Regions from separate parts of the Homo sapiens genome. Here regions 1, 2 and 4 are each linked to region 3. Evidence: promoter capture Hi-C in 16 types of primary human blood cells and fetal thymus (Javierre and others, 2016). All regions are on one chromosome and are shown on one strand. Each heading gives the region's core, a stretch centred on a gene start or on the middle of the fragment in contact. The rest is flanking DNA. Distances are from core to core; before and after follow the strand shown. Region 1 holds the start of MIR422A (microRNA 422a). Region 2 overlaps HERC1 (HECT and RLD domain containing E3 ubiquitin protein ligase family member 1). Region 3 holds the start of DAPK2 (death associated protein kinase 2). Region 4 holds the start of HERC1 (HECT and RLD domain containing E3 ubiquitin protein ligase family member 1).

Region 1 (5,812 bases), core at 2,116-4,615, 180 kb after region 3:
TGGCGTGATATCAGCTCACTGCAACTTCCACCTCCTGGGTTCAAGCAATTCTCATGCCTCGGCCTCCCGAGTAGCTGGGCTTACAGAAGTGCACCACCACACCCAGCTAATTTTTGTATTTTTAGTAGAGAGGGGGTTTCGCCATGTTGGCCAGGCTGGTCTTGAACTCCTGGTCTCAAGTGATCTGCCTGCCTCAGCCTCCCAAAGTGCTGGGATTACAGACATGAGTCACTGCGTCTGGCCAGATACTATTCTTACTTAGGAGAGGTTACTGCGTAGTTGGAAGGTTAAGCCACACCCCTTGGGAACACCGTCAGGGAAAACACTTAGGGAAGCTCTGCTCCAAAATTTTTCAGGCTGGGGTCCAGAGGGTCTGCTGCCCCGGGACTAATGCACATGTTCCCTCAGAGAGAGCCTTTAGGGATGGCTGTGTAAGACAGTCCCCAGCCCCACCCTGCCCACTGTCTCCACCGTACCCTCTATCATCCTCTGCATGCCTCATGCTCCTGCAGTGCTCTTCTCTCTCTGCCTCTGTCTCTCTCTCCCCAACCTCATAAATCTAGGCTTTGTTCCTGCTGGTCCCTCTCCCTACAATGTCTTTCCCTTCCTTTACCCTCCTAGTGAACACCTGCTTCTCTATCCAGCTCAGATGTCCCCTCTTCTAGGCAACCTTCCCTGGCGCACTGCTCTCACAACTGACTCCAGTCCCCAGGTCTGGCACCCCACCTCTCTGTGCCTCAGTTTCTGTAGCTGGAAAATACGATGATGATGACGGTACTACCATAGCTAATCACAGGGTAGTGGTAAGAATTAAATGAGATGATAAAAGCACCTTGTGAGGGGGCTGTATCAGTGAGTGTCATGGTCAGTGGTAGGTATGTGTCAGCAGATGCATACCTCATTGGTGAGCATATAATACTGTATGTTGCTGGGGGAAGCCCACAATGTGAGGACACGAGAGAAGCACTGGACTTAGGGTCAGAAGGCCTGAGTCTCTCTGCTGCAGATGGGCTCTCTGTCCCTGAGCCAAGCTTTGTCCTCCCTGGGCCTCAGTTTCCTCCTTTGTTCATTTAGGCATGGCCTCCAGGGCCCCTCCTGGCTATCCTAGCTTGGCTCAGAAGCTCTGGGTCCTGGGCTCTGAGCTCCGAGGCCCTCCCTGCCCAGCTCCTGTTCTCAGTGCTGGCTCCCTAGGCTGGACAGCTCCCATGCTATTAATATTCCTGGAGACAGCAAAGTCTCCCAACTCTCAGCATCTGGACAGCACCTCAGGCCAGGAGCATGGAGGCCCAGGCACACATCAGACCCAGAGCTCCAGAGTAGGGCATGGGAGAGTGGGGAGCTCCTTCCTGGAAGAGGAGGTTGGCACCGGCAGCGAGGAGCTCCAGTGCTTCGGAGGGGGAGCAGGAGGGGGTTGGGCACACCCTTAGTGGAGGAGCTCAGAGACTGTGGCTTTTGGGTTTTGCCTGCAATCCTTAGGGCCAAGATCACCAAAATCATTTAGACCCTGACATCCTAATTGGTCCTAATCCACATATAGAATATAGGATTCTCACTTGATCCTATGGAAGAGAAAAATTTTCCACTGTGAATGTTCAGAATCTTCTTAGCAATCAAGGGCTCTATCCCACACATAGCAATTTTGTCACATCCTAGACTATGGGACTTTTTTTTTTTTTTAAGTGCTTCAGTGTGTCTTTGATGCTGGATTTGGTAATTGGTTCTTGGGTTTTAAAGACTTGGTATTTCCACGGTGAGTCATAATTGTTCGTTGACATACCTCATTGCCTAATGCCATTTATAGCCCCAAAAGATAACATACATCACATGAGGATTTTTTAAGCTCACTTCTTTAAACAGATTCTATATTGTACTGTTTGCTAGGTCATTCATCCATCCAGTATTCTCTCTGCTTCCTCATTTCTCCTGTGTGCTGGAGACTGTGCTCTCACCTTCACACCCCTCATTTTATTTAATCCTCACAACCATCTCAGCGAGGCAAGAATTATTATCCCCTTTTCAAAAATGAGAAAAATATGACTCAGAGAGGTTAAGTGATGTGCCCAGGGCCACACAGTAAGCGACTGGAATTAGGATTTCAACTTAGGGCACTGAACTTTTCATCATAGCAAATTGGCCTCCTCTCTCCTCCTAAGCTCCCCACTTCTCATAGCATTCAAGTCCTCCTCACTATTATGTGTGTTTGTGTGTGTGTGTGTGTGTGTGTTTTAGAGACAAGGTCTTGCTCTGTCATCCAGGCTGGAGTGCAGTGGTGAGATTATACCTCACTGCAGCCTCAAACTCCTGGGTTCAAATCACCCTCCCACACCAGCCTCTCAAGTAGCTGGGACTATAGGCACATACCACCACACCTGGATAATTAAAAAAAAATTTTTTAAAGATGGGGTCTTGCTGTGTTGCCCAGGCTGGTCTCAAACTCCTGGCCTGAGGGAATCCTCCCACCTCAGCCTCCTGAGTACCTCCACATTATTTTGAAGCAGAGAACACTGGGGATAATTATGAGTTTTTTGTTTGTTTGTTTGTTTTTGTTTGATGAGAAGAATATTGTCTAGGTTTATTTTATTTTTATTCTTGATGAGAAGAATATTGTCTAGGTTGATTTTGTATTATTATTCTTGATGAGAAGAATATCGTCTAGGTTGATTTTTTTTTCATGAGCTTATTTATTCATTCAATACATCTCAATGAGAACTGGCTAAACAGGGACACTTGGTGTTAGCCCAGAGACCTAGAGGTCATGGCCACTTATTACATGCCGGGACCCATGGTCATTCCATAACCACCCTGCTCCCACCCTGAAAAAGAGTCACAAACAATTAGGACCCAGACTGGTGGGTGGTCTTGTAGGAGAGGGTCTTGTAGGAGAGGGTCCAAAGAAGTGAGGACAAAACCCTACCAATTAGAAGTCAAGTCTGAACTCCAGACAGGAAAAAAGAAAAAAAACCCATCAACTCAAAAAACCCTCTGTTCCCGTTAAGAGCATAAGCTTTAGATTACAAAGTCTTACATAGTGGGAGATATCCTTGGGAAGGAGGTGTTGTGAGGTGGAGAAATAGAGGCACTGATGTTGGCACCCAGAAAATCTTGGGCCATCTCTCAGGCAAGTGGCTTGATCTCTCTGGCCTATGTTTCTTTATCTGCAAAACAGAAAGATGCTTTCTGTTTCTCAGGGTGAGGGGAGTAAATGAGCTAACATGTGCAAAGCCCTCCATTCCTGAAATGTGGCAGCTACTTTAAAATTGTTATTTCAATGCCATGAGTTATGTGTGGAGCAGTTGGTCCAGAATAGAGGGGGAACAAAATTTGGATCAAAGAACAGCCCCTGAGGGATTAAGCATTCATATAAGATAGACATGAATCATTGCAAAGGCACACCCTTTTTCCCAATGTGTCAATGAGACTTCTTCATCCAATGAGTTAGTCTAACCGGAGGTGAGGTGGGCTCTAATTCAAGACCTATAATAGACCAGGCATGTGCCATTGATAGATGCTAATGATGATTGCAAACAAAGGGGGGTGGCTGCATAAATGTAGCTTCCTCTACATGCTCTGGAGGAATGGGAACATCTATCTGAGACCTCTGGTTGGGGACTATAGGCTTAAGAAGGCCAATATAATAGGGAGGACAGCATGGTAGCGAGAAAGAAGGTGGACTTAAAGCCAGAAGAGCCAGGCTCAAGTCCCAGCTCTACTTTCCAACAAGCTTTGAGACCCTGGGCCAGCCACCAAGTGTCCTGTCTGGTTTATGAGAACAGTTGTCTTAGTATCTGCCTCACCTTGGTCATAAAACTGTTGTCAGAAAGACAAAGTAGGTCCCTCAAAAAATTAAACATAAAATTACTAGAAGATCCAGCAATTCCACTTCTAGGTATACAAAAAATTGAGGCTGGGCTCAGTGGCTCACACTTGCAATCCTAGAACTTTGGGAGGCTAAAGAGGGAGGACTGCTTGAGGCAGGAGTTCAAGACCAGCCTGGGCAACATAGTGAGACCCCCCCTTCTCTACAAAAAAAAAATTAAATTAGCTGGGCATGGTGGCATGCACCTGTGGTCCTGGCTACTAAGGGGGCTGACGTGGGAGGATGGCTTGAGCCTGGAAGGTTGAGGCTGCAGTGAGCTGTGATCACACCACGCACTCCAGCCTGACTGATAAAGTAAGATCCTGTCTCAATGAATGAATGAATGAATTGAAAGCAGGGACTTCAACAGATATTTTTACCCTCATGTTCATAGCAGCGTTATTCACAAGAGCCAAACAGTGGAAACAACCCAAGCATCCATTAATGGATGAATGGATAAGCAAAGTATGATACATACACAACGGAATACCATTTAGCCTGAAGAAGGAATGTAATTCTGATACATGCTTCAACATGATGATCCTTGAAAACACTATGTTAAGTGAAAGAAGCCAGACACAAAAGGAGGACAAATGTATGATTCCAGGTAGATGAGGTTCGTAGAGGAGTCAAACTCATAGAGAAAGAAAGTAGAGTAGTCATTATCAGGAGCTGGAGGAGGAAGCAATGGGGAGTTATTGTTTAATGGGTACAGAGTTTCAGTTTAAGGTGGTGAAAAAGTTTTAAGATGGATGGTGGTGATGCCTACACAACATGAATATACTTAATGCCAAAGAATTGTACAGTCAAAAATTGTTAAAATGCCCAACTACTCTGGAGGCTAAGGCAGGAAGACCGCTTGAATCCAGGAGTTCAAGGCTGAAGTGAGCTATGATTGTGCCACTGCACTCCAGCCTGGGTGACAGAGTGAGACCCTGTTTCAAAGAAAAAATAAAAAGTAAAAAAGATAAATTTTATATTATGTATATTTTAACACAATAAAAATTACCTTTTTTAAAAAAAGAAAGATATAGGCCAGGCGCGGTGGCTCACGCCTGTAATCCCAACACTGTGGGAAGCTGAGGCGGGCAGATCACGAGGTCAGGAGATTGAGACAATCCTGGCTAACACGGTGAAACCCCGTCTCTACTAAAAATACAAAAAAAAAAAAAAAGGAAAAAAAAATTAGCCCGGCATGGTGGCGGGTGCCTGTACTCAGGAGGCTGAGGCGGGAGAATGGCGTGAACCCGTGAGGCGGAGGTTGCAGTGAGCTGAGATCGCGCCACTGCATTCCAGCATGGGAGACAGAGCGAGACTCCATCTCAAACAAAAACAAAACCAAAAAAAAAAAAAAAAAAAAAAAAAGATATACTGTAGAGGAGAGTCATTTGCAATCTGTACAGCAACATGAAATAATTAGCTGTGGTAGAGGGGTTAGGATGCAATAGTTACATTATTATAACTACCCTCTACCACAGCTAATTACTATTGCTCTACAAGATTTCATATTGCTTTACAGGTTCTCTTAGAGCAATTGTCAAAATTGAGACCCTCATCCAGGACTTCTACAAACTGTTTTCCAATCTGAAAAATAGCAGGAAGGAGTAGATTTTTTTTTTTTTTAAGACACTGTAAGAGCTGAACGTGGTTTCCCTGGAAAGTGGGAAACGGGAGTGGTAGGGGCTGATGTTTTTCCTAACAGGTTTGTAGAACTGGAATCTTAAAAAAAAAAAAATGTTCCTGATTCATTATTTTCTAATGCTCTTTATTTATATCTGCTCTGATCATTGACTTCTATCCCACAATAAAGTTGAACCAGCCAGTGAAAACCATGGTTGTTATAGCTAGGAAGAGGGTGCTGAAGAACACTGAGCACCCTGTGTTCCTCCTTTCTGCTGGGCACGCAGTGATGGGGAGGGCCCTTACCCAGGACTGCTCAGTGTGTCCCCATCGGTA
Region 2 (5,627 bases), core at 1,748-4,247, 240 kb after region 3:
TTTAAATTGAGCCATTTATTGAATTTGTAATAGTATCTTGTTGTGGTTTCAATTTCCATTTCCCTACTGACTAATGGTGTTGAACATCCTTTCATGCGCTTTTTTGGCTGTTTATGTATCTTTGGTGAAGTGTCCAGATATTTTGCTCATTTTAAAAATTGAGTTTTCTTATTGAGTTGTAAGGGTTCTTTTTATATATTCTTGATACACGTCTCATTGGATATGTTTTACAAAATAGTTTCTTTCATCTTGGGGCTTGCCTTTTCATTTTCTTATTTATGTATGTGTTCATCATATCTAAGTCTTTTCATTTTCTTAACAGTGTTGTTTTTTTTTTTGAGACAGTTTTGCTCTTGTTGCCCAGGCTGGAGTGCAATGGTACGATCTCGGCTCACTGCAACTTCCACCTCCTGGGTTCAAGTGATTCTCCTGCCTCAGCCTCCCAAGTAGCTGGAATGACAGGCGCCCGCCACCATGCCCGGCTAATTTTTTGTATTTTTAGTAGAGACGGGTTTCACCATGTTGGCCAGGCTGGTTTTGAACTCCTGACCTCAGGTGATCCACCAGCCTCAGCCTCCCAAAGTGCTGGGATTACAGGCGTGAGCCACTGTGCCCGGCTAGCAATACTTTTTGAAGGACAAAAGTTTTTAATTTAGATCAGGTCTAGCTTATCAATTTATTGTGTGCTATTTAAGAAATCTTACCCAGGATTGCTAAGATTTTCTCCTATGTTTTCTTCTAGAGACTTTTTAGTTTTAGCTCTTACGTTTCGGTCTGTGAATCATTTTGAGTTGATTTTTGTATATGGTATGAAATTAGGGTCAAGGTTTATTTTTCCTGTTTGCATATTCAGTTGGTCCAGCACCTTTTGTTGAAAAGATTATCCTTTTCCTATTAAACTGCCTTGACACTTTAGATAAGCATCAGTTGGCCATATATATGTGGGTCTATTTCTGTACCCTCAGTTCTGTTCTGTTGATCTATCTTGATGAAAGTACCACTATCTTGTTGCCACTACCACGTCTTGATTACTAGTTACTAGTTTTATATTAATAATAAGCTTAAAAGTCAGATAATGTACATCTTTAATGTTTTCTCTATCAGTTAGAATTGTTTTGCTATTCTCAGTCCATTGCCTTCCTGCCTTGCAAGTTTCTGAGACTGTGAAAAGTGTTTTGCTTCTTTTGTTACCCAATTGAGATCATTTAATAATCTTGAAAGAGTGGTTAGGAGGAATGTATTTTATCATAGCAACAAGACTTTTAAGAAGGAACTGAATTGGCAATTGGTTCATTAAAACCTTCTGAGGTTTTAATTTCTAAAAAGTTAGTATGGGGCTGGGCGTGTTGGCTCACGCCTATAATCCTAGCACTTTAGGAGGCAGAGGTGGGAGGATAGCTTGAGCCCAGCAGTTCAAGGCTTCAGTGAATTATGATTGTGTCGCTGCCACTCCAGCCTGGGCATCAGAACCAGACCCTGTGTCAAAAAAAAAAGAGAGAAAAAAAGAGCATGATATACACCACGATGTTGATAAGAAGCAGCATGATTTAGTGGTTAAGGGGTCACCTGGCAGACTAGTCTGGTTTGAATCCTTACTCTATCAATTACTGGCAGTTGTGACCTTGGGCTATTTAGCCTCTCTGTACCTCCACTTCCCTTCCTGGAAAATGGGGATAATACAAGTACTTTTTTCTTTTTATTAGTTTTTTAAATTTAAATTTTATTTTATTTTTTGAGACAGGGTTGCTCACTTTGTTGCCCAGGGGCACAATTATGGCTCACTGCAGCCTCGTAGGCTTAAGCGATCCTCCCATCTCAGCCTCCCAAGTTGCTGAGACTATAGGGGTGCACCACTATGCCTGCCAAATTATTTTTTGTAGAGATGGGGTCTCATTATGTCACCCAGGCTAGTCTCAAACTCCTGGGCTCAAGTGAGCCTCCCACCTTGGCCTCCCGAAGTGTTGGGATTATAGGCATGAGCCACCACACGCAGCCCCTATTTTATAGAGTTGCTCTGAAGAGTAAATAATACATGTATTTTCTGCCACATAGAAAGTGCTTCAGTGAATTGTAACTGCTATTATTGCTTTGTTCACCTAGAGAATGCTAAAAGCTTCAGAATTTGATAAACTCACTTATAGGAACTTAAACTTACTTGCAGTAACTCGTTTATTTCAGTTTTAGAAAGATAGTTGTAGTGCTGATTGGTTTTTTTCCAGTTCCTTGGTAGTTTTCTAACCTTTCTTTTCATTGGTGAATCTTTGGTAATTTATGTATGTATGTCAGTTTGGATTTGTGCATTGTACCAGGAGTGGAAAAAAAACAATTGGCTTTTAGTGTTATAAATTTTTACCTTAAATTAATAAACAAAACAAAACTGCAGTTTTTCCTTTGCCAATATTTAGCTGGTTGATCAGGATTGTGAACTGGTGGTTCTAGAATGCAAGTGAAAACCCATTAGTTTGATTTGATTTTGTCTGTAGTTCTTTACTCACCGAATAGGCACGTCTGTTTCCAGGTTTATTTGACTAGTTCTCATTATTGATGTAGCAAAAACAATTTGCCAGCAAACTCAGCAAATCTTTTCCTTTTCTAAGTGTACTTTCTTAAATAGCAATAATAACAACGAAAAAGTTTTTTCTTTTTTAGCAGGAGTTCAATTTTGCACAGCTAACCATTGATAATTTGTGTGGTTTAATGAATAAGAGTACCAACATCAATCATTCAGCTGAATGAAGCCTTCTAGAAGTACATGTGGCAGGAGTGGGGAGACCTGGACCACAGTGTACATTTAAGTTTCAGTTATAGAACTTTGCAAATGGGCTCTTCCTCCTGCACTTTCAGAAATGCCCTTGAGAAGTCTTTATTGACACTTTCTCTTATGATTCTCTAAGTACTGTGTATTGGGGGAGACATGGGTTGGTAGACGTCGAGAGTTCAGTTTTAAACATGATGTGTTAGAGATTCCTTTGGTACATCTGAGTGGGTATATCATGCTGGCAGTGGATGTCCAGGTCTGGAGCTCAGGAGAAGTTTTGACTGGATTCATTAGCATATGAGATAGGTAAAAGCCTTGGGAGTTGCTGGGATCCAAAAATGTATGTACATGAAGAGGAGGAGACTGAAGTGGACTGCAGATAGAATCCCTAGGATATATCCACTGTGGTACCACCACACTTGCACTTGCTCACATTAGGTCAGTTCAGAGTAAGATAATATGTGAGATTAAATTATATTCAATATGCATAATGGACTACCTGGATTCAGATTGCTTAGCTTAATTCAGGAAATATTTATTGAGCTCCCTCTATGTGCTTTACCTATGCTAATAAACACTAGGGATATAAGCAAAATCGATACTGCCTCTGCTCTGATAGTCTTTATAGACTAATGTGAAAGATTGTCTTTGCTGTTTTTACTCACAGCACTTCTGACAACAAGTGTGTGAGTTTTTTGCGTACACCAATCAGTTCTTCAACTTTCCAGATACCAACGGGCTGTCCCTGCAGTTCATTTCCATTCTGACACTATCCAGAGTTAGCATCAGACTACACAGGTTTAAGGGCTCAGTCCCACAAGACTACTCATACTTCAGATGCCAGTTGCATGTATTGAGTCCCACACTTCTGAATTGCCTACAAACGGGGGAGTTCCTACAACTACCCCCTCACCTTTGAGTAATTTGCTAGAATGGCTCACAGAACACGGGAAATATCCTATTTACAATGACTGGTTTATTATAAATGATACAACTCAGGAATAACCAAATGGGAGAGATGCATAGGGCAAGATACAGGGGGTAGGGGCATGGAGTTTCTATGCCTTTTCCTGACATGCCACCCTCCCAGCATCTTGATGTGTTCACCAACCTGAAAGCTTTCTGAACCCTGTCTAGGGGTTTTTATGGAAGCTGCATTACGTAGGCTTGGTTGATTAAATCGTTGACCATTGGTGATTAACTCTATCTCCACCCCTTTTCCTCTCCCTTGAGGTCTGGTGGTGGAACTGAAAGTTCCAACACTTTTATCACTTGGTTGGTTTCTCTGGCAACCAGCCTTCATCCTGAAGCTATCTAAGGGCCCACTAAGAGTCACCTCATTAGCATAAACTCAGGTATGGTTGAAAGGGGCTTGTTACGAATAACAAAAGATGCTCCTATTCCCCTATCACAAAGGAAATTACGAACACCAAGTATGTATTTCTTATGCCACAAATGGACATTAAACAAATCGCACAAATTATATATAATTGCAAACCATGCAAGGTGCTATGAAGGTAAAGTACTGGATGCTGTGTGAACATTTTGGGAGAGACCTAATCTCACATGGGTATAGTCAGGGATACCTTCCCAGAGGAAGTGACATTTAATTCAGCTAGTGATACTGTTACTGAGTACCTAATTAATATCTCTGGTACTGTACTGTTTAAACTGATATCTTGTGACTAAACATTAACTGGGTGAAAGAGGATGGAATGGAGAAGGCAGGCTCTAAATAAAGAGAACTGCCTGTGCAAAGTTCCTGAAATACAAAGGAGCATAGTGCCTTCCAGGAGTTAAGGATCTCAGGCGTCTATAGAAGAGAGAGCAAGGGGAGAGGTCAGTTCTTGGCCTTCTTGTCAGAGGAGAGATTTTGTTCTTTAGAGTAAACCTATTCTTCAGAAAAATTTTAAACTCTTCCCCTTTGAAACAGACTTCATTAACTTTTTATTACAGAAAAATATTAACAAATGCATTAGTGGAGAGAATATTTCCCCATACCCCAGTTTCTTTCTTCTTCTTTTTTTCTTAAGAGACTAGGTCTCACTGTCACCCAGGCTGAAGTGCAGTGGCATGATCACAGCTCACTGTAGCCTTGACCTCCTGTGGCTCAAGGGATCCTCCTGCCTCAGCCTCCCCAGTAGCTAGGACTACAGGCATATACCACCACATCTGGCTAACTAAAAATATTTTTTTCTGTAAAGATGGAGTCTCACACTGTTGCGCAGGCTCAGGCTGGTCTCAAACTCCTAGCCTCAAGTGATCCTCCCAAAATGCTGGGATTATGGATGGTAGCCACTGCACCTGGCCATGTTTTAGAGTACCTTGAGTCTGATTTAGGAATGGCTCCTGAAACCTGCTTAGAGAATTTCTCTGACTCCTTTCTGGGTTCTCTGCAATTTTAGTTTTGCTTGCAGCTATCCTTGTTAAGTGTTTGCCATTATTTTTTGGCATTTTATTGTCCTATCATTTTCCATCTTCTGTCTTTTCCTCAAATTCTATATTTTTCTTTGCTTTCAAAGCCTAGTCCCTTAATAACTGATCTCCACTACTACCCATGGAGATCATAATTTTCTTCCAGGGGTTTTGTAGATCATTGCCTCCTTTGGATACTGGCAGAAAGGATCAATATTTTTCTTTTTCTTTTTCTATTTTTTTTTTTTTAGAGGCAGAGTCTTGCTCTATCACCCAGGCTAGAGTGCAGTGGCACGATCATAGCTCACGGCAGCCTTGACCTCCTGGGCTCAAGTGATCCTCCCACCTTAGCCTCCTGAGTAGCTGGGACTACAAGTGCAAGCCACCATGCCTGGCTAATTTTTTAATTTTTGGAGAGACAGGGTTTTGCCATATTTCCCAGGCTGGTCTCAAA
Region 3 (5,961 bases), core at 3,449-5,948:
GAGCAGGAATACAAATAGGCCTGTCTGATTCCCGAGCCTAAAGAAGAAGGTGGTTGGATGTTGTAGCCCTAAAGGTGGGTATAGTTTGAGGGGTCCTGGCCACACAATGTGTCACCAGCCTCTGTCCTGAATAGAAGGCAATGGCATATGCATGGGTCATGATCCCATAGCGTAGGCCCTGTGCTGGCTCAGGTGGAAATAGGGGCGGTGAATGACAAGTGGTTTCATACCTGCAGCCCTTTACATGCACAGCTGCTCACACCCCATGTGCCCTGCCTCCCTTGCCCCACTGTGGACTTTTCTGTTCTCCCGGTGATCCCTACTCTTCTTTCAAGTTTGAATCAAGCTTTCCTTTTCTCTGGAGGCTCCTTCTGGAGTAGATCTGACCTTTTATGGCATTGGGTCTTTATTTGCCCCTACTCCAGCACATAACCCCAGGAGGTACTATTGAATGTTTGCGGAGTAAAAGAGTGTGTACACATGTCCAGGAAATCCCCATCCCCCAGGTTCTCTAGAGAGAGGCAAGGCCTCCCATCCCCCAGCTCCTTCCTCCCTTCTCTCCTCCCCTTCCCTGCCCCATCCCTGTGGTGCTGAGTCCAGCAAGGCTAGAGGCTGAAGCAGCTGCCTCTGGCTGCAAGAACCAGTGCCCCCGGGGGTGGGGGGGGTAGCAGGAAAGGTTGCCAAACCAAGCCTGCTCCACACCTCCCATCTAGGAGGGCAGATGGCACAGGGCAGAGTGGGCATGGCTGGGAAGGGCTGAGAAGCCAGGCCACCAGGTCAGTTTGGGAAGAAGCAGCTTCCTGCCGGCCTTCCATCCAGTAGGCAAGCCCTCTGGGGAGGAATCACCTGTGCACTCCCTTGGCCGAGAGCCTGAGAGTCAGGACTTGACCCGTTGTCAAGAAGACTGCATTTCAGACTGCATTTGGCAATTCTCTGGGCCAGGCTAGGGGTGGGATGGGGCGCAGAGATGAATAAGATCCATTTCCTCCCCAGGGGAGCTTATTGCCAGACATTTAGGGAATAATAATAACAGTTAATAATCATTGCGGACTTTACCAAGTGCCAGACACTGATCGAATTGAAAAGTAACTGCATGCTCACAACAACCCAAGAGATAAATGCTACTATAAGCTCCATTTGACCTATGGGGATAATGAGGCACAGAGAGATCAAATAGCCTGCCCCAGACCACATGGCACGTAAGTTGCATGCTGGGATGCCTGAGTGTGGGCCCAGGCAGTCTGGCATCAGAGTCTCTGCATTTAGCCGTCACACTACACATGCTGTAAGCCAACCCAGGTGCCATCTGCCATGGCCAACATGCAGCATCTTAATCCCCACCTTGCCCCCTTGTCAGGAGGTTTTTAGGCTCTGTAAACTTGCCAGGCACCAAAGTATGCTTTAGGATATCACCATGACTAGTGCCCTTTGCTGCCTGCCATGGTTACATCTTTATCTATGGGCTTGTATTCTCATCCCTGGGAAGCACAGGTCCTGTGACTCTACCATCTCACAGTCCCTTGGAATGTCTTTTACAAAGCAGGTACTCAGATGTGTTTGTCATTGAGGGGGTTGAGAATTTCCCTAGGTCTCTGTGACATGAACAGACTGGGTCTCAACCTGTGCACTGGGAATCACCTGGGGAGTTTAACAAAAACTGATACCCAGAACTCATCCTCAGAGGTTCTGATGTAATTGATGTAGGGTGCAGTCTAAGCATGGGGGATTTTAAGCACCCCATGTTATTCTCAGTTATTCTGATGTACTGCCTGGACTGAAAAGTTCCAGATTAACACTGTTTTAGAAATCTTGGAAGTTTCAGTTGAGGGAAGGCAGCAGAGGGAATAGCTTCAGAGACCAGTAGGCAAGATTCATGTCACAGCTCAGCCACTTACAAATTGGATGAGTTTGAGCAAATCAAATTTCTCAAGCCTCAGTTACATCATCTGTAAAAGAGGATAATGACATCCCCCTAGAAGTGAAGCACTTGAAGTAAGATTATTGAGCATCTACTAAGTGCCAGGTGCTTGGGTGCTCTTAGGGGACAATAGAAAACAAGACAGCTATGGCCCCTTGTGATATTTACCTTCCTTAATTCAGTTTAAGAAACCTTTACTGGGTTTGGGATATCAAGCACTGTATGGGTTCAAAGATGGACAAGAAATTGTACTTGCCCTTGAGAAAAGGAGAAGTAGACACTAATTAAAATAGAGGAAGGAAGATGACAAGAGATGTACCAACCAAGAGTGGTGAGGTTCAAAGGAGAGAGGTATTTAGAGGGCAGACCAGGGAAGTTTCTGTGGAAGACATGATACTTTAGAAGGCTCTTAGAGGATAGATAAGATTTTGTAGAATGGGATGAAGGGTAGTGGAAACGAACAAAAGCATGGAGGCAGGAACAGCCAATAATCCAACCTGGCAAAAGAGCTGGATGTGCATGCAGAGGAGGGAAGGGAATGTGCATACACAGCAGGAAAATAAGGGTTGGGGCCTTAAATGCTAGGGTGAGGCATTAACACTCGATTTGGTCAGCCATGGGAACCATGCAGGGACTGGAACTGAGTTGGATAATTCTTAGCTCTTAATACCTGGACTGCCTCTGGCTTCATTCTGGAATTTGTGTCTTCATTGCCACTGTCCTCGGGGCCTCCCCTTTTCTGCTGATGGCCACCTTGGTCCTGTGTTCAGTGCCCTGTCGCTGCCCTCAGGTGAGGGTCTGATGAACTCACCCAACCTTAAGCATAAGATGCATCTCCAGATGGTAGCTTCCTAGATAGTTGCATTCTGGCAGGTACAGTGGAAGGGGCACCAGACTGAATCTGGAGGAGGCCTGGTTCTAATCCTAGCTCTGTCTCTCACCAGCTATGTGATGTTGGGCAAGTCACCTCCCTTCTCCGAGCCTCAGTTTCCTCATCTGAAAAGTGGCCAGGGTCAATTGACAATGACCCTTCCAGCTGCAATGGACTCTGACTAACTTGTCAATTGCTAAACCCAAGAATGTCTCTTTTGACTCATGTAAGGGGCTGCTGCTGCTGACAATGAGGTATTAAGCATGAGGCTCAAGGGAAAGAGATGGAGAGGCCACATGTAGGTGATCAGCAGGGTCAGCTGAGCCCAGCCTTGGATTCATCACAGCCCAGGTACTGGGTATGAGAATGGAGAAATCTCCAGATGATTTCAGCCCCCAGCTATTCAGGTGTTCCCAGTTGAAATCCCAGACACTGCAGAGCAGAAATAAGCCATACACACTGTGCTGTCTGAACTTCTGTCCCTCAGAATGCATGAACATAGTGAAACTGTTGTCCTGTGCCACCAAGGCTGGTAATGGTTTGTCACCAGTGATAGGTAAATGGAAATGGAGGAAGAGGTGTTTAGGGATAGTTTGGTGGGGGACTTCTCATGTTGGTGAAACTTCACCAGTGGGTGTCATTCCCTTAGGTCCGTTGACATCAGAAACCACCTCTAGTCTTGGATATTACTCTATATATCATGCTGCTCTTAGGAGAGGAGGCTCGCTGGCTGCACTGTTCTGAATTATTGTGAAGTTTATAAACAAGGAACTCTTTGCCGAGGATGTCCTGGACCCGGAGGCACTGCTCAGCTGGGGGGTGGGGTCCATCTGTATTTGTCCCAATGTCCAAAAGGCTGAAGGGTGTGTGTGTGCTCACACTGGTAGAGGTCCTCTAGGTGCATCTTACACACTCCATCTCATCTCAGCCCCACCATAGCTTCATTAGGAGCTACCGGAAGGTGCGTTTCTCCCACTTTACTGATGAAGAAAGAGCCATGCCCAAGAACACACATGCGGAGTGGCAGGGCAGGGCTTTGAACCTGGTGGTAGGACTCTGAATCTAAGGCCCTTTTGAGGAGCCCCATGGGTGACTTAGGGATGGAAATTCCAGGGGTTGGAGGGGTCCTCATTTGCTTCCTCTAAACAGCCTCTTGTTTTGAAATAAGACAAATGAACTTGGCTTAAGTTCTGTTTTCCCTTCCTTCCTCCCTTCACCCCCTCACTCTCATTCCTTTTTTCCTCAGGGATTTTTTGGCAGAGGGCAGAGAGAGGAACCCATTCCCAAGTCCTCTATTAGAGAAGGCGTGATGGTGAGAGGGGGGCTTCACTCAGCAACCGTGCCAGGACAAAGGGCAAACGAGGGCAGGCCGCTCTCAGGCTGGGTCGGGGGCAGTGAGGAGCAGAGCGGCCCTTCTCATCGCAGCCCCCACCTTGCTGTACGCTGTGGGCTTGAGGTTTCCAGGAGAGTCTGCGGTGTAGGGAGCGCTCTGGCTGGGAGGGAGGAGACGGCCTATTCCTCAGTGGGGCTTCCTCGCTCACGGTGTGTATGGTGGGGAGAGGAGCACACAAGTACCATTTTCTGAGGATTGTGCCAGACCATGTCATACGTATAAGCTCATTCAAATCGATTTCCAGATAAGGCCGGGGGAGGGTAGCCGACTTGCCCAAGGCCACGCAGCATGTGCGCGGTAGAGCCGGTAGGGACGCGCAGAGGGTCTTGCTACCGACTCTCCCCGCTCTCCCGGGAGTCTGGGAGCCCTGAGGTGTCCCCTACCCGGCCGGGAAGCTGGGCTCTCGCCCCGGGACTGTCCGGAGGGGGCTCCAGCAGGGGGCGCCCCGAGCCCCGTCCCGGGCAGCCGGGCGCGCCTCCAGCCGGCGCCTGGGACGGGGCTGGCCGCTCCGCCCCCTCGGCTCCTAGGCTGCTCGGCGGGCGGGTGCCGGGCGCTCTGGGAGGAGAGGACTGCAGGGCCGAGCCCAGCGCACCCCGCCGCGTCCCCCGTTCCCGCCGCGCCCGCCGCGCCCGCCGCGCCCGCCGCGCCCGCCGCTCCCGCCGCGCCTGCCGCGGCCGCGACCGCGGCAGCTCAGCCTCCCGCCGTGAGTAGCACCCGTCTGCGGGCTCGATGGGCGGGACGGGGCGCGCGGCCTGACGGCAGCAGCGCCCGGGTCTGGGGCTGGCGGGGCGAAGAGATCCGGGGCACTCGCTCGCAGATCCCGGGCCCGCCGCCCCAATGCCTGACGCCGTGGCCCGGGGCATTGTGGCCGGCACCCGAGCGCGGGAGCTGCCCGCCGCTGCCCTGGGGCGCCCTCCGGAGCCTGGCACTTTGACCTGGGAGACAGGGTAGAGGCGGCGGGCAGAGCCAAGCACCCAGCAGGGAGATGGGAGACAGACGTCCATCGAGTTAGGCCCCCTGGAACGGGCAGAGCACGCCCGGCTCCCGGCCAAGTCTTCTCAGCTTGGGCTGACTCTCTCACCTCTTGCTCCCGCCTGGCACAAGGATGTGATGCGAGGAGGGTGCTCAGATGTCTGAGCTTCCTCTGGGGCTGAATGAAGCTGGGGTCCCCGCCGTCAGGCGCCCCGGCCTGGGGTAGAGCTAGGATGGGCGTGGGGGCGGCCAGCAGGTGTGCTGCAGGTTGGGGTGGAACGGCTTGGAAGGGCGTTGCCAACAGTTGACTAGGACTCTGGGCTAGGCATTTTGGAGGTCCCAAGGCTTGCATAGGTCTGGCTAACCCTCACCGTAACTCTGCACGGTGGAAATTGGTATTCTTACTTTACAAAAGAGAAAACAAGGTCCAGAGAGGTGAGCCTCGTTGAGGCCGTGCAGGTAATGGTAAGGCAGTGGTGCACACTGGAGGAGAGGGCACCATAGCTGGCTGCCTCGGGGGCAAGCGGGCAGGTGCAGGGACAGCGCCTGACATCTTGTATCCTGGAATCCTGTGGAGGGCAGCCACTCTGGTTTCTGACACTGCGACTCCCAACTGCCTCTGTGGAAGATATTCCTGGGAGAGTCCTGTTGACCTAAGAGGCCGTGGTGCCTTGGCCTCTTCACAGCTAACTTCACAGCCCTGTCCTTCCCCAAACCGCTCATCTCCCAAGATGTTTTTTGAGCACCCTCAAGTGGCACCACTGATGATTCAGCACCTTCAGAGGAGACTTGGGCAGAGGGGTCAGG
Region 4 (6,139 bases), core at 764-3,263, 210 kb after region 3:
GTTGTATTCAATTCTCTTTTACACACAGCTCTGAGGGTGGAAGCTAAGGAGATGGTAAAAGAGGGAGTCTCTTGATTGGTCTTTAAAGTAAGCAGTCCTTTTCTTGAAATAGAATGGGCAAAACCAGGCTGGGCACGGTGGCTCACCCCTGTAATCCCAGCACTTTGGGAGGCCAAGGCGGTCGGATCACAAGGTCAGGAGTTCGAGACCAGCCTGGCCAATATGGTGGAACCCCATCTCTACTAAAAATACAAAAATTAGCCAGGCATGGTGGCACACACCTGTAATCCCACCTACTTGGGAGGCTGAGGCAGGAGAATCGCTTAAACCTGGGAGGCGGAGGTTGCAGTGAGCCAAGATGGTGCCATTGCACTCTAGCCTGGGCAACAAGAGCAAAACTCCATCTCAAAAAAAAGAAAAAGAAAAAGTGGGCAAAACCAGTACAATTTTACAAATTCAAGAAAGACAGAATATCATATTTGTGAGTGACGTAGATGACATCAACAAGTTAAAAGGAGGAGCTTTTGCTTGTTGTTTTTGAGTATGCTTCACACACAATACCCAGATCATAAAGCACTAGCAACAATGACATCACTCCTCATGTAGCTACTCCCTTACATCATTTACCAGAAATACACATTTTATACATAGAAACTTAAAAGCTACACACCTAAGACCCATCATTTAATGAGTACTTAATATGTGCCGTATGTGAGCTTTACATATATTTTACTCCTCAGAGGAACCTTGTGATAACAAGAACTGGCATTATAAATTGACACATAAGGAACTGAGGTTCAGAGAGGTCAAGCAACTTGCCCAAGGTCACACACCTGGGGTAAGTGGGATTCCAGAATTCCCACCAGTGTCTGACAGTGAAGCACATGGCTCCTAACTCTTGGACTAAACTGCCTCATGTGACACACAAACATGTATCTAATTTAACCATGGGAAAGCACTCCCTCGTCTGTCTATACCGTAATTTCTTACATTAGTGACACATTCATGGCTTGTATGTTTGTGTGCTTCTCCTACGCCTCCAATTGGATTGCAAACTTCTGGAACGCAGAGGCCAACTCTATTTTTTGTCCCCAAGTCATCGGTCAGTTTAATTGATGCTCGTTAGAATATCTGGAAGGAAAGACACCATGAAGGTGGCTGGAAAGGAGTAAAACCAGGTACAGAAGGAGGAAGATGGAGATGGGGTATTCACTCAACAATTTAATGTCCACTTGGACCTATGTTAGGCGCTGGAGATATGGTGAGGACTGAGCCAGTCTGTGTCCTTCCCCTCATGGGGTTTCACGTGGAGGTCGAGGTCATGATCAAGGATGTAAGTCACCCAAAGGACACTACTGTGTTCCCAAGCAGAAAAGAAAACCGAGGAGCCAGGCCCTGGCATCTGCAGGGTTCTGGCAGTCCCATAAGGCGCAAAGACATGAACAAGGTGGAAGAGTAGGTCAAGTGAAACGCTTTTATGTGATTGAACTTAGCCGGCCGGAGGGCCGGGGCCGCTGCGATGAGAGATAAAGAGCGTGGGGCGCCGGGTGCGAGGCGGAGATAAAGGGGTGAGGCCCTGGCCCTGCCGCCGGCCGTAACACGTGTCCCTTCGCCTGGCGGCGGGGTCTTCCCTGCCCACCACGAGGAAAAGGGGGCGCACTGCATGGCCCCCCACTCCTCACCACCCTTTGTGAAACGCCCCCAATTGTGCTTCATCTGTGGAGTCAGGTCCCCGCAGGCGGTCGGGGCTGCCCGGATTCCGCGACGGCTGAAGGGTGAGGGCCGCGCGGTAGCAAAGTGTCCCCAGCACCTAGCTTGGCTCCCCTCGCTCCCAAATCCCTTTCCCCTTTTCGCTCAACCCCCAACTCCACCTCAGCCGCCTTCCTCTCGGTTCCCCTTTCACCTCCCGCGCTGGGCCTGTTGGGCGGGGCGAGGGCTCCCGGCTGCGCGAGAGTTCCGCCCAAATCTCGTGAGACTCGCCTGACGCCGCCGCTGCTGCCGCCGCCTCTTACGTCTTTCCCTTTGACAAGTCGCTGCTGCTGCAGCAAAAATAAAGGACGCGACCGCCGCAGCCTCTGCGGAGCCGGGCTCGGGTCGCCGGAGCCGCGCCCCACCCCGCCAGCTCCAGAGCCACGTACGGTAACGCATCATCTACCGTCCTCCTGGTCCTGTGTGTGTGTGTGTGTGTGTGTGTGTGTGTGTGTGTGCGCGCGCGCGTGTGTGCTTTGCCGGCCGCGCAGGGCCGGCCGGGGCCGTTTCGGGACTGCAGCCGAGCGGGGCTGCTGGGGTCCCGGGTGGGCGGCAGGCGAGCTGGGGGAGCCCTCCTGGCGCGCCGCGGATCCCCCGGGTCCCCGGCTCTAGAGGCCTCCTGCCGCCCGGGCGCCTCGGAGCAGCGTAGAAGCCGAGGCGCCCGCGGAGAGGGCCGAGAGACCCGCCCCTCCAGCGGCTTACAACGTCTGTGCCCCGGCCCCGCTGTGGTCGCGTCTCTTTCTGCTTCATTCCTTTATCTGCTGACCAGCTCCTCTGCCCCGGCTGGGGCTCGGTCCGCGGGCGGCGGCCGACTCCCTCTCAGGGTCCGGGGAGTGCCGCGACCCCGGTGTCCCCAGGCGCCGGCCGCCTTTAGCGGGGTGGAGGCTGGGACGACGTGTCTTCCTCCTCTCCTCTGCCTTTGGGTGAGGGCAGCTCATCATCTGCTAAACCTTTCTCCAAATCTCCCGCCCCAATAAAACAACAAATTATAAAGCCTTTGCAACCGGGAGGCGAGGCGGGGCGCATTGTTTAGTCTTAAGCGTGAGATGAGGATGATGATGGTGATGACAGGAGCTACCCCGGGGAACATGGTGAAATCTGTTCTGTGATGGGTGGCAGGTTACTGGGAGACACGAGGAGGACAGGAGCTTGTACCACCTCTCCCAGGAGGTTATGTAAAAGACATGTTATCTTAGAGAGCTGTGAAACACAGGGACAGATTTGTCTTAGTTTAAGAAATGTCTATAATACTTAGAATATAGAGATAATTAAATGATGGGAATAACAAATCTGAACAAACTAACCCATCTTTGTAATTCCATCTCCAGAGGTGGCATTTCATGGTTAACATTTTATTGTATTTCCTAACAGACACATTTTTTTTTATCCTTGCTTGGGACTTCCTCATTCTATATTTGTTCCAAAAATGATTTATTTTATTTGAATCAGTTCTCTGGCCTGCTTGATTAAAACTGGCTGCTAGTTCATTATCACTGGCTGAACTCTGCCATCACTATCTTTTTCACTGGGCCCTTTTCCAAAATGATTGTTAGCTAAGTGGTTTGAAAAATCAAACGTTAAAACATTGTCTGTTTGGGTCTAGTACCTATGTATATATTATATTTTTACAATTCTGTTAGTGGTGGTTGCTCAAAATGGGGCAGTATTTGTAGAAGGGAAAGAAACTATGATTATTCATAGTGGGAAGAAACCTATTTACCTCAGGTTTTATGAAATTGATTTCTACTGGATATTTTTAGACCAAAATTGTTCTGTGACATTGTTTCATAGTGCCTGTTGTGATTAGTGTGGGATGAGTATGTCTCTTTGATATATGTGTTTCCATAGCCTGCGTTTATACAAGCAAAATTGAATGTCCTAGGTGCCTGTCTTATGCATAAATGTACGTATATATGTATAGAGACACACACACACACACACGTATTCTGCACCTATACACATTTATATATCTTGGAAGTGAGTTAAGATGTATTGCTATATTATTTGAGAAAAGATAGCATTAGGAAGGGCAAAGAACAGTCATAATATTTCCCCCAAATCACATGACAAGGTTGTATGGCAGAATGAGATATCTAGGGAGGTTGGAAATCTGGAGCCTTTTAAAAATAGGATAGATTGTCATCTGGGGTTGTTGTTATTGGAATGGATTAAATGGCCTATTAAGGCCTCTTGTAATTCTAAACTTTTATGAATTTTGCGTTCCCTAAGGTTCTTATCATTTTGCTTCTTAAATTTCCAGTCATGCTGTTTGCATGTGACACATCCATTCATTTGCTGGTCATGTATTCCATTTCCAATGCAGGCACCCTGATGTTGCATGGAAGAGAAAGCAAATGTAAATGCGTCACTTAATCTGCTTATTAATATAAACATCTCTTGAAAATCTCAATTTAAAGAAATTTTGGAGAATGTGTTGGTGATTGGACTGGATTGGGTTAGTAGAGGGTGCAAATAATAAATAGTAATAACAATTCCAACGTTCCAAGCATGTTTTCCCCCAAAAAAGTCATACTGAATACTCCCTAATATTTGAAATAGAAAAAAAAGGGGGCTGGGTATATTGAAGGAGCTGACCTTTTAAAATTTTTAAAATTCAGATTTTCAGATCTTAAAATGATGATAATGATGACATCGTGGCTTGGAGAGTGAGAAGGTTGTGTTAGGATAAAAAGAAACTTGTGAAACAAAACTTGAATGTTATAGTTGGATAACTATATAATAGCAAGTAACAAACTTACTATAATCTGTTGAAGCTATTTTTAAAAATTGTAAATAGAACTTTTGGCCAGATTACAGTAGCTCACGCCTGTAATCTCAGCCCTTGGGGAGGCCGAGGTGGGAGGATGGCTTGAGCCCAGGAGTTTAAGATCAGTCTGGGCAACATGGTGAAACCTTGTCTCTATGGTAAATACAAAAATTTGCTGGACGTGGTGGTGCATACCTGCAATTCCTGCTATTAGGGAGGCTGAGATGGGAGGATCAATTGAGCCTGGGAGATTGAGGCTGCAGTGAGCTGTGATTGCACCACTCTACTCCAGCCTGGGAGACACAGTGAGACTCTATCTCAAAAGCAAAATAAAACAAAACAAACAACAACAAAGGTCTACACAACTTTGGCTTAACATACACATGAAATACATTGTTGTGAGCATGTATTGCAGATTATCATGATGTTGAAAACATAAAAAGTTGGTCAAATCATTTACAGAGAAGTTTGCAAAGCCAGGAAGGTCACATCTGCTAGCATTTTCTTTAACTACAAAAAGTGAAAAAGAGCATAAAGTAGTTGTTTACTTACTAGATGCCAGATCCGATTTTCATGATTTTAGTTTGTTCTGATGTTGCCTACCGGGCTCTCTAAATTAATGGGACTGTTAAATTTCAGATGAGATCCTTGAGCAAGAAGATATGACAGTTGTATCAGATGATTGGTTGATGGATTTTATTTATTTTTAATGATTTATTTAGAAATAATGTTAGACTTACAGAAAAGTTACAGAGAGAGTACAGAGTTCTTACATACTCTTCACCAAGCTCCCCCTAATGTTAACAACTTACATAACCATAATACAGTGATCAAAACCAGAAGTTAGCATTGGTGTAACTCTATTGACTATAGATTTTACTTAATTTCACTGGTTTTTCCCCATTAATGCCTTTTTTTTTGTTCTAGGGTCTAATCTAGGTTCCCACGTTGCATTTAGTTGTTGTGTCTTCTTCATTTCCTCCAATCTCTGACAGTTCCTCAGTTTTTGTTTTTCACGACCTTGACATTTTTGATGAGTACTGTTATTTTTTAGAACTTCTTTCATTTTGGGTTTGTCTGATGTTTTTTCTCATGATTTGATTGAGGTTAAGCATGTTTTGCAAGAAAACTACAGAAGCGATGTTGTGTCCTTCTCAATGCATCATATTGGGGGTACATGGTGTTGACATGTCTTTTTGCTAGTGGTATTTTAACTTTGAACCCTTAGCGGTATTCTTCACAGTAAAGTTACTATTCTTCCCTTTATTGTTCATACATATCTTGGGGGAGACACTTTGAGACTGTGGATGTACAGTTTCTCCTCAAACTTTCTCCCATTGATTTTTAACATCCATTGGTAGATCTTGTCTGCAACAGTTATTACTGTGGTGTTTGGCTAATCATGATTTTGTATTTCCCTCATTCCTTCTGCATTTATTAATTGGAATTCTTTAAGGGAGAGATGTCCCCTTTCCCTCACTTATTTATTCAATTATTTGTTTATATTAGTGTGTTCTTATGGGATCTCTATTTTCTATGGATTATAATCCAATACTATCATTATTTATTTTGTTGTTCAAATTGTTCCAGCTTTGGCCATTGGAAGCTCTTTCAGGTTGGCCT

What was found. Contacts are between HindIII fragments. The CHiCAGO score rates a contact against its expected background, and 5 or more counts as called.
Region 1: a contact is called between a fragment that was not itself captured here and the fragment with the promoter of DAPK2 in region 3, in 2 of 17 cell types (M1 macrophages and M2 macrophages). The highest score is 7.1, in M1 macrophages.
Region 2: a contact is called between a fragment that was not itself captured here and the fragment with the promoter of DAPK2 in region 3, in 6 of 17 cell types (M1 macrophages, total CD8 T cells, M0 macrophages and 3 more). The highest score is 7.6, in M1 macrophages.
Region 4: a contact is called between the fragment with the promoter of HERC1 here and the fragment with the promoter of DAPK2 in region 3, in 11 of 17 cell types (megakaryocytes, M1 macrophages, M0 macrophages and 8 more). The highest score is 10.7, in megakaryocytes.

What each region holds. Positions count from the first base shown.
Region 1 is chr15:63,866,164-63,871,975 of GRCh38, reverse strand. MIR422A (microRNA 422a) reads left to right here and starts at 957; the gene lies at 957-1,046. The HindIII fragment of the contact is 717 bases long and covers 3,007-3,723 here.
Region 2 is chr15:63,799,296-63,804,922 of GRCh38, reverse strand. The region is part of intron 1 of HERC1 (HECT and RLD domain containing E3 ubiquitin protein ligase family member 1); the gene reads left to right. Among named protein-coding and RNA genes, the nearest start is that of HERC1, 32 kb to the left of the region's middle. RefSeq lists a silencer at 2,725-2,914. The HindIII fragment of the contact is 1,763 bases long and covers 2,116-3,878 here.
Region 3 is chr15:64,045,222-64,051,182 of GRCh38, reverse strand. It overlaps DAPK2 (death associated protein kinase 2), which reads left to right and starts at 4,698. Exons shown (of 12, transcript NM_014326.5): 1 at 4,698-4,885. RefSeq lists an enhancer at 178-724 and silencers at 4,525-4,734, 4,755-4,814, 4,845-5,064. The HindIII fragment of the contact is 10,777 bases long and covers 349-5,961 here.
Region 4 is chr15:63,829,822-63,835,960 of GRCh38, reverse strand. It overlaps HERC1 (HECT and RLD domain containing E3 ubiquitin protein ligase family member 1), which reads left to right and starts at 2,013. Exons shown (of 78, transcript NM_003922.4): 1 at 2,013-2,134. RefSeq lists enhancers at 1,825-1,954, 1,128-1,991, 1,992-2,857 and a silencer at 2,195-2,624. The HindIII fragment of the contact is 17,710 bases long and covers 1-6,139 here.